3 separate regions of the Homo sapiens genome follow, and all the other regions are linked to region 1. Evidence: promoter capture Hi-C in 16 types of primary human blood cells and fetal thymus (Javierre and others, 2016). All regions are on one chromosome and are shown on one strand. The core of a region is centred on a gene start or on the middle of the fragment in contact, and the rest is flanking DNA. Distances in the headings are between cores, read along the strand shown. Region 1 holds the start of SRSF6 (serine and arginine rich splicing factor 6). Region 2 overlaps STK4 (serine/threonine kinase 4). Region 3 has its middle 80 kb from the start of CHD6.

Region 1 (2,700 bases), core at 175-2,674:
ACCATCACCCTGCGTCTAATGGCAAAAGGCTGCTGTCGTCATGGCTTCCGGTAAGGTCAGCCAAAGGGTCATAGGGCAAGGGTCACACAATGTATGGAAAAGCCAAGGCCAATCAGGAAAGGCAGTCATCTTAGCCTCAGTGGACACAGCCTCAGCCCCATTGGTCACTTTCAAATTGAAACATCAAGGACTTGTTAAAAAGTTTGAATTCAACATGCAACAATTTAAACATCAAACATTTAACATAACCAAAAATCCCCCCAACCTCCTCCCAATAACATGCCCCAATTAGTTCAAATACAGCATAAAGCTTATTTAGATCTACTTTGTGGTACAATACCACATTACTTAAAAATAGTACATTCTTTGGCCCCCATCAAGTTCCATAGCTTTAAGACCTATACTTTATGCTCCTCCCCTTCCCCGTCCCCCGCGCCCCCTACCCCACCTCCACCCGAGCCTGCCCCCGAACCTCTAACTAATGCACTGATAGGTAAGTAAGGAGAATACAACAAATACAGCCACCCCTTACTTCCTCTGTGGGAAGAACCCGTGACAGTGCTGACAAGGGGCCAGAAGAAGCCACCCACCTCCCAACTTGGCAAATAAACAAAACCAAACACCCAAACCCAATCCCCGCGCTCCGGCGTCCCATGGCTGCCCCGGGCAGACGTGAAGGCAGCGGGGCTCGGGGACACCCAAGTCAAACGACCCCCGGCCCTCGCGCCTGCCCGGGCTGGGAGGCCCCACCCCACCCACCCCCGCCCCCAGGGTCCCCAAGGGCGCGGAGCGCGCGGGGGTGGGACTCACTGCGGCTTCCGTAGCTGTAGCCGTCGCGATCGCGACGCGGGCCCCGGGCGTGCTCTACGATCACGCGCTCGCCGCAGAGCTCCTTGCCGTTCAGCTCGTAAACGGCGTCGTCGGCGTCGCGGGAGTCCTCGAACTCCACGAAGCCGTACCTAGGGGCGGTGCGAGGGCCGGACAACCGCGGGGGAGTCGTTAGCCAGGACGCGCACGTGCGCGCGCCCGTACCCCACCGCGCGCCCCCGCGACGCCGCGCCGTCGCCATCTTTGAGGCCCTGCCACGCGGCGCCGCGGCCTTGGCCGCTTCTTTCCTTGGAGAGTTCCCGCCGCCACCAGGCCTGGGACGCTGGGCGCGGGCGCCCAGGCCCGACTCACCCATTTTTGAGGTCTACTTCGAGGAGGCGGCCATAGCCACTGAAAAAGCGCTGGATGTCCTTCTCCCGGACGTTGTAGCTCAGGCGTCCTATGTAGACGCGCGGCATGTCCGTGGCGGGCGGGGACCCAAGGGCTGGTTGTCGAACGGCGGACCGCAAGCCAGTAACCGCGGTGCGGGTGCGGGGACGGCAAGAGCCCGAACACGCGCCTCACACCACAGGGGCGGCCGAGTCCAGCCACACAATGGCGCGCGCGCGCGCCAGGCTTTCGCTATATGGGCGGCCGGTGGGGCGGGGCCTGGAGCGTGATGTCAGCGCGCAGCGGCACGTCCGTCCCGCGTCGTCCCTGGGCTAGATGGTGACTGGCGAGTCCGTTGCCCGCGACGTTTCGGTGTAGTGCGGTCTTGCTAGCTTCTAGGATTTTTCTCTAGCCCTCCCCACCGTCTTTGAAAACACAATGTCTCTAATCCAGCCGCAGAACTGCTTTCTAATTTGTACCTTTTATAAAACTGTGCGCGATCTCTTCGGGGTTGAAGCTCGGGAGGCGGGCTGAGCGAATCCCCGTTTTTCATTGGTTCTCGAGGTTATCATAATAGGTCGCCGCGGTCTCTGCTTGGTGGCTTAAAACGAGGCTGCGGATTTCTCCCAGCGATTGGTTGATGCTCGTTTTGATGGGGACCGCGGTCTCGGACCCAGTCGCTTGTCTTGTTTCGCAGAATCTGAGGATCGCGCGCCGAGGTCTTGCTGACCGGGCGGAGGTCGCGTTGCGAGCGCGCAGACCCGCCGACATCAGCCTCTCCGGGTCTCACTCGCAGCCTTCGCCTCCCCGGACGTTCCCCTCTCCCTCCATGGGTCTTTCTTGGAGCCCTGGCAGCTTGACTCACTTGTGGATTGGGCTATCCGTGGCAATCCTACGCTCACTGTAGGTGCTCAAAAGGGAGCGTGGACGAGACCCGGCAGCCCTCCCACAGCGACGAACGATTTTTTTTCTCCCGTGTATGGAAAGTCCTTTGTCCCAATACTATCATTTCCTCCACTGACTTGAAAGTGCCTTATTTTGTGAGTTTATCAATGGAGATGCTATTTAAAGCTGTAGAACCAGATTGAAAACCTCAAAGGAGTAAGTTTAAGTGGAGAGCGGAAGACCCAGGCCAACGCCTGGGGTACTCTGAAATTTAAGCGCAGGAAAGGAGACTGGGAGGAGTGACTAGCGAGGTAGGGAGAAGACCAGGAGAGTAGGTGTCACCGCCGAAGCTAAAAAAAAAAAAAAAAAAAAAAAGGGATATCACTGAGATAACACCAGCTCTTTAGATATTTATGTATTCCTGCTCTGTTTTGAGTGGTGCAACCTCAATATCCTTAAGCTTCGGGTTGAAAAAGGGGGGTTTTGTCCTCCTGGAGCTATTTGGAAGTCTAGAGGGAAACGTTGTTTGTCACGACTGGGGGAGGTAGAGGCCGTGCTTAAAGTTAGATAAATAAAAAATACGAGTCTGTAATCCCCACACCTTGGGAAGCTGAGGCA
Region 2 (2,700 bases), core at 172-2,671, 1.5 Mb before region 1:
GGCCAGCATCCCAGGAATGCACTCTACGCCTTCCACTATAACATTAATCTAATGGCAACTCATTTTTTAAAATTATTAACTCCTATATGAGACACCAATCTGTCATCACTTAATCACACACACACACAAATGTCAAACTCACGAACACAAAGGGCATTTCCTGCACTGGGGTTATTGGAAACACATGCCATCTGAATTTCTGAAAAGACACCTGTATCTTTCCAAACACAAGTAATGGTGTCTATGAAGTAGTCACTTACAGGTCTGGCTAATTCTCAAAGCTTTCTCCCATTTCAGAACTCCCATAAAGTTCATTTTATGTGTAACTATTTCTTTTTCCACACAGAATTTGATATGGATTACAACAACTATACATGATAAATGGACAAAATCTTACATAATAAAACTGTGTCCCCAGCTTACCCCAATTCATATGCTGAAGTCCTAATACCCACCACCTAAGAATGTGACTGTATTTGGAGACAAGGCCTTTAAAGAGGTAATTAAGATAAAATGAGGTCATATGGGCATGCCCTAATCCAGTATGACTGGTGTCCTTATAAGAGGAGATTAGGACACTGACAGGTACAGAAGGAAGAACATGGAGACACAGGGAGATGGCCATCTACGAGTCAAGCAAAGGCGTCAAAAGAAACAACTCTGACAATGCCTTGATTTCAGATCTCTAGCCTTCAGAACAGTGAGAGAATAAATTTACGTTGCTTAAACCACCCACTCCATGACACTTTGTCTTGTCCTGATAAACTGATACACGTGATAATAAAATTGATCTGCTTCAAATTAGGCAATCTACTAGTTACAATGAGCTGGGAATCACCAGCCACTTCAGAACCCAGTCCTGCAATGCTCTTCTCTTGTGCTTTTAATACATTTTTTAAAATCCAAAAGGTACAGGAATGAGCATGCCAAGAAACTTTAGTCCTTTGCTCAAGATTATGTAAGACAAGGCAAAGGGGGAAACAAAACTCAGATTCCTAATCCTCTTTTCAATTAAACCAAGGCCTCGGAGAAAGAAACCAAGAAGAACGAACGAACATAGTTCAGAAAGAAACATAACTAGTGTGCATTCATAATTGGATCACTATGGTACTATAGTAAATATCTGCTAACATACACAGAGACCTGTGAAACAGGGGTACTTTTAGAGAGGCATCAGAGTGAGGCAGTTAAGAGCATGGCCGGGCCCGGTGGCTCACGCCTGTAATCCCACCACTTTGAGAAGCCAAGGTGGGCGGATCACGAGGTCAGGAGATAGAGACCATCCTGGCTAACACGGTGAAACCCCGTCTCTACTAAAACTACAAAAAATTAGCCAGGCGTGGTGGCACGCACCTGTGGTCCCAGTTACACAGGAGGCTGAGGCAGGAGAATCGCTTGAACCCAGAAGGCGGAAGTAGCAGTGAGCCGAGATTGCGCCACTGCACTTCAGACTGGGCGACAGAGTGAGACTCCGTCTCAAAAAAAAAAAAAGAACATGGACTTTGGACCAGACCCCATAGACATTAAAATCCTAGCTCTGTCTCTTACTTGCTATGACTTCTCCCAGCAAATCACTACCCTCTGTATCTCAGTTTTATCATCTGTAAAACAGACATATAGGGATATCTACCACACAGGATTGTTGTGAGGTTCAAATGAGTTCAAATGAGGTTTTTATGGTTCAAAAATGGTCAAATATCAGCAATTTCATATGCTTCAGCAGGACACATGGAAAGCACTTAGAACAGTGCCTGGCACCCGGTAAGTGCAATATGAGTGTAATAATCATTACTATTACAGTCTCAGCACACTACGCTAGGGTGAATCCAAAGCCCATCCCAACCACCTATTTGCCTTCTGCAATGTTTGTGCACCTCAAACATCCCCAAGCTCAAACAACCCCTAAGAGTGCTGCCCAGGCAGTCAATCCCTTCTCTTCACCTCTTGGTTGCCCTGCACTTCCACACCCTGAACACTTCCTTCTTTAGAGCTCATTCTGCTGCAGGAAGTCAGACGTCTCTGTGAAATAGAAGTAACCACACTGAACCTCAGAGAAGCATGACTCCTTCGGTCTCTAGTCCCTACTTTTCTCCAGATGTGGTAGAGTGGCAAAAGACCCGGGATGTCCACAAGGGAAATCCAGGAGTTGAGATTTTCTAGGATCAGCCACCATCCTGATCTTGAACTAAAGCAATTCCAGGTACCACTAGGATTTGGTGCTGATATTCACAAAACAACTGAGGCCTGAAAAGGGCACAGACTGGCAGGGTTCAGTGACCCGGAGTAAAGAAGGAAACACTTCCCAACTACTCTGGACCTCAGTCTCCCCATCTCGAAAATATCCTCTTATTTCCTTACCTACCTCCCAATGTCAGGTTCTGAAGAGCTGAGGAGGATGTGAAGACCATTAGGAAGACACTGAACATCAGTAATAAAAGATGCCATCCTACAGTGGGGACACCACCAACAGCATCCTCTGAAATGCTACCCTCCACCATCCCCTCCCTTGCTAGACCCTCAACCTTTCCTCGCATGCTTTCAGCCTTAGGCGCAAAGCTTTTCCCCTCCACAGATCCCCCCACCGCACCCCTCAAGTGGGACTTCAGACCCTTAGAAAGTCCACCCGGCCTTCCTCTTGGCCAGTTCTCGATCCACCCCCTTAAAGAGATCCCTCACAGATTCTCACCCTGCTTCAGCATT
Region 3 (2,912 bases), core at 359-2,858, 1.8 Mb after region 1:
TTATTATCTCATAGAGCCAAGGTGTGACTTAGCTGAATGGCCTGGCTCATGGTCTCTCATGAGGTTTCTTGCCATTAAGGTGTTAGCCAGGGATTTAGTCTCTGAAGACTCGACTGAGGCTGGAGGATCTGCTCCCAAGGTGGTACTCTGACATGACTAATAAGGTGACACTGGCTGTTGACAGTAGGCTCAGTTCTCTACTACATGGGTCTCTCAAGACTCCTAATGACATGGCACCTGGCTTTCCCTAGCATGACAGAAAGAGAGAGACAAAACCAGAGACAGAGAGACCAAGAGAGAAGCTATGATGTATTTTAACCTGATCTGAGAAGTGACATACCATAATTTCTCCTGTATTCTGTTTTTGGTGGGGTGTTTTTGTTTTTGTTTGTTTGTTCGAGACAGGGTCTTGCTCTGTCACCCAGGCTGGAGTGCAATGGCATGAACACAGCTCACTGCAGCCTCAACCTCCTGGGCTTAAGCAATTATCCCGCCTCAGCCTCCGTAGTATCTGGGACTACAGACTCACACCACCATGCCTGGCTAGTTTTTGTATTTTTTGTAGAGACGAGGTCTCATTTTGTTGTCCAGGCTGGTCTCTAATTCCTGGGCTCAAGCAATCCTCCTGCCTCGGCCTCCCAAAGTGCTGGGATTATAGGCATAAGCCACTATGCCCGGCCCTGCTTCTCCTGCATTCTGCTGGTGACACAGACCATTACTGCTGCTACATGGGAGGGGACCAGATAGGGTTTGAAAACCAGGAGGCAGGATCATTGGTGGCCCTCTTAGAAACTGCTTACCACAGTCTCCAAGAAGAACCCCCTCTCCCCCAAACTCCACCTAAACTCTGGAACAGGGAGGTGTGCAGATTTCACTGTTTCAAACTACGGAGGCCCACAACAAACAGTGAATTTACTCTGTCCTGGAAACTCATGTTTTAAGCCCAGTAGAACTGCTTTTCCTCAATTATACTTGAGCGTCATGCCATAGGCCTGCATAAAAGGACATTATAAGAAACAGCTCCAATTAAGTCACCGCTGTATTGCATCACTGTTCAGTCAGCTGACCCACGGGAAAAATATCTCTTTGGTCTCAGGGTCAGGAAAAGTTGAGCTTCTCCCAAATATTTGTTTTTCTCACATAAAATCTAGAATTTTATTACCACTCACATTTCCCTCTTTACTTTGGCCATTTGGAAGCTCGGAGCCAAATGTGTAAGCCTTTGCTGGTGTTGATCTTTTTGAGCTAATGTCATCCTGGAGTTATTTCTTCCACTTGTTTTCTATTTTCTCCAGCTACCTCAACTTTTTGTCTTATCCTTTTGTATATTTTGTACTTTTGTAATTCCCCTCAAAGCTTTTGTGGATTGAGATGGAGTTTAAATACACAATAAAATTAGTTTTTGCCCAAAAGACTGATGACCTGCATGTGCCATCTAGTGGTGAGAGAGACAACTGCCAGAATAGAAACCTCCCTGATTTTTCAGATGTGTTTTAGATGGGAGAGTGGTGAGTAGTGGGCAAGGGAAGAGGAGGGAGACCGGGCCCCCTCTGTGTGCTTTGTCAGGAAATTGAAACTGCTGAGGATTAAAGAGCCTCTAGGCAGGGCCAAGGAGCAGGTGATTCAATGGCTGGAAATGAAGATGATTTATCAGAATCTGAAGAAACAATCAAAAAATAGTGAAGAATGAGGAAGGCACTGGAAGTGGAAGGGTTAAGAAAAAAAACTGTTAGTAAAAGTAAACAATGAAAATGGACCTAATTGAAGCAAGTAATCACTTGAAAGGTGCTTAATGTAGGTTGATCACAGATGTGACCAGCCATTTTTTAAACATTCACATTAACTGTAGAAAGAAGCTTAGAGTCCAATGTTTTTATTTTACTTGAGAGAAAACTGGGGCACAGAAGCATTGAGCATCTTGTTCAAGGTCATACAGCCTATGAGCCCCAGGTCCAGGGTAACTCCTAGATCAGTCCTCTTTCCCCAGCACCACCCTACTCCTAACTGTATATAGCAGATGCTCATTTGGGCTTTCATTTTGCACACAGGGTTTCACAAGAAAAATGAGGTCATTACATAAAAATGCTGGATCCAGCATATTTTCAATGAATTATTACTAGCTGGTTTTGTAGCTACCCCCCTGACCTACCCCCAAAATGTCAGGGTGGTGGTTCAAAGCACTGGCTTCGTTAATCTTCACCATGTGGCAAGTCATCAGTTCACAATGATAGAGAAGGATTCCAGAAGCCAATGGCAGTAGGTGAGGGAGCCCCAATCTGGGGAAGAGAAAGTAAATTCACTCATCTACCATGTTAACCTAGCATCTGCTCTGGGCCAAGTTCTAGGCAGTTTGCTGGGGTGGCAATATCAACAATGCACTGGCCATGTCTGGAGCTATACGTATCCCATCTCCCTGTACCCTGACCTGTGTTCTTGGACACAACTTCAGCTAAAACTGAGGCATAGCTTGGATCTGGAGGGCCCTTGAAGACCTAGCCCAGGGATCTGTAGTCTCAAGTTGAATGTCTTGGAAACAGCCTGAAGTCAGGAACCAATGAGGGGGCTGGAGATACTGTCTAAAAAGGAACTTGAGACATTCCCATACTGGAAAGCACAAATATGGAACATTTTACTCATCTGAAAGAGTTCTATTAAACAGCACTGGCCAAGAGTGCCCTTTCCTGGATTTTCTGCTCCTCTGAGTCCTACCAGTTCTCCTAAGCCCTTCAGCAGCTGATATCAGCAGAGACTGATATGAGTCACTGATTCCTGGAAAAGACAGAACTCTGGTACAATGGCTGTTCCAAGTTGATGTCCTCAGAGGTACAAATGACACACCAGAGACAGAAGTTGTTTCTTAAACTTTCCGGGCTTCTGTGCTAGTAACGGGTGCCAGATGGGGCAAAAAGAAC

The links. The method cuts DNA at HindIII sites, captures the fragments that hold promoters and counts their contacts. A CHiCAGO score of 5 or more calls a contact.
Region 2: a fragment that was not itself captured here is called in contact with the fragment with the promoter of SRSF6 in region 1 in 1 of 17 cell types (fetal thymus); the score reaches 6.0 in fetal thymus.
Region 3: a fragment that was not itself captured here is called in contact with the fragment with the promoter of SRSF6 in region 1 in 2 of 17 cell types (erythroblasts and M0 macrophages); the score reaches 6.6 in erythroblasts.

The regions. Positions count from the first base shown.
Region 1 is chr20:43,456,620-43,459,319 of GRCh38, reverse strand. SRSF6 (serine and arginine rich splicing factor 6) reads right to left here and starts at 1,424. Exons shown (of 6, transcript NM_006275.6): 1 at 1,180-1,424; 2 at 811-959. The coding sequence starts at 1,286. RefSeq lists silencers at 638-897, 908-1,007 and enhancers at 1,148-1,247, 679-1,626, 1,548-1,707, 1,768-2,087. The HindIII fragment of the contact is 2,232 bases long and covers 313-2,544 here.
Region 2 is chr20:44,966,934-44,969,633 of GRCh38, reverse strand. The region is part of intron 1 of STK4 (serine/threonine kinase 4); the gene reads right to left. Among named protein-coding and RNA genes, the nearest start is that of STK4, 1.8 kb to the right of the region's middle. RefSeq lists a silencer at 1,238-1,367 and an enhancer at 1,828-1,907. The HindIII fragment of the contact is 2,275 bases long and covers 284-2,558 here.
Region 3 is chr20:41,696,501-41,699,412 of GRCh38, reverse strand. No RefSeq gene overlaps it. Among named protein-coding and RNA genes, the nearest start is that of CHD6, 80 kb to the right of the region's middle. RefSeq lists a silencer at 1-203. The HindIII fragment of the contact is 500 bases long and covers 1,359-1,858 here.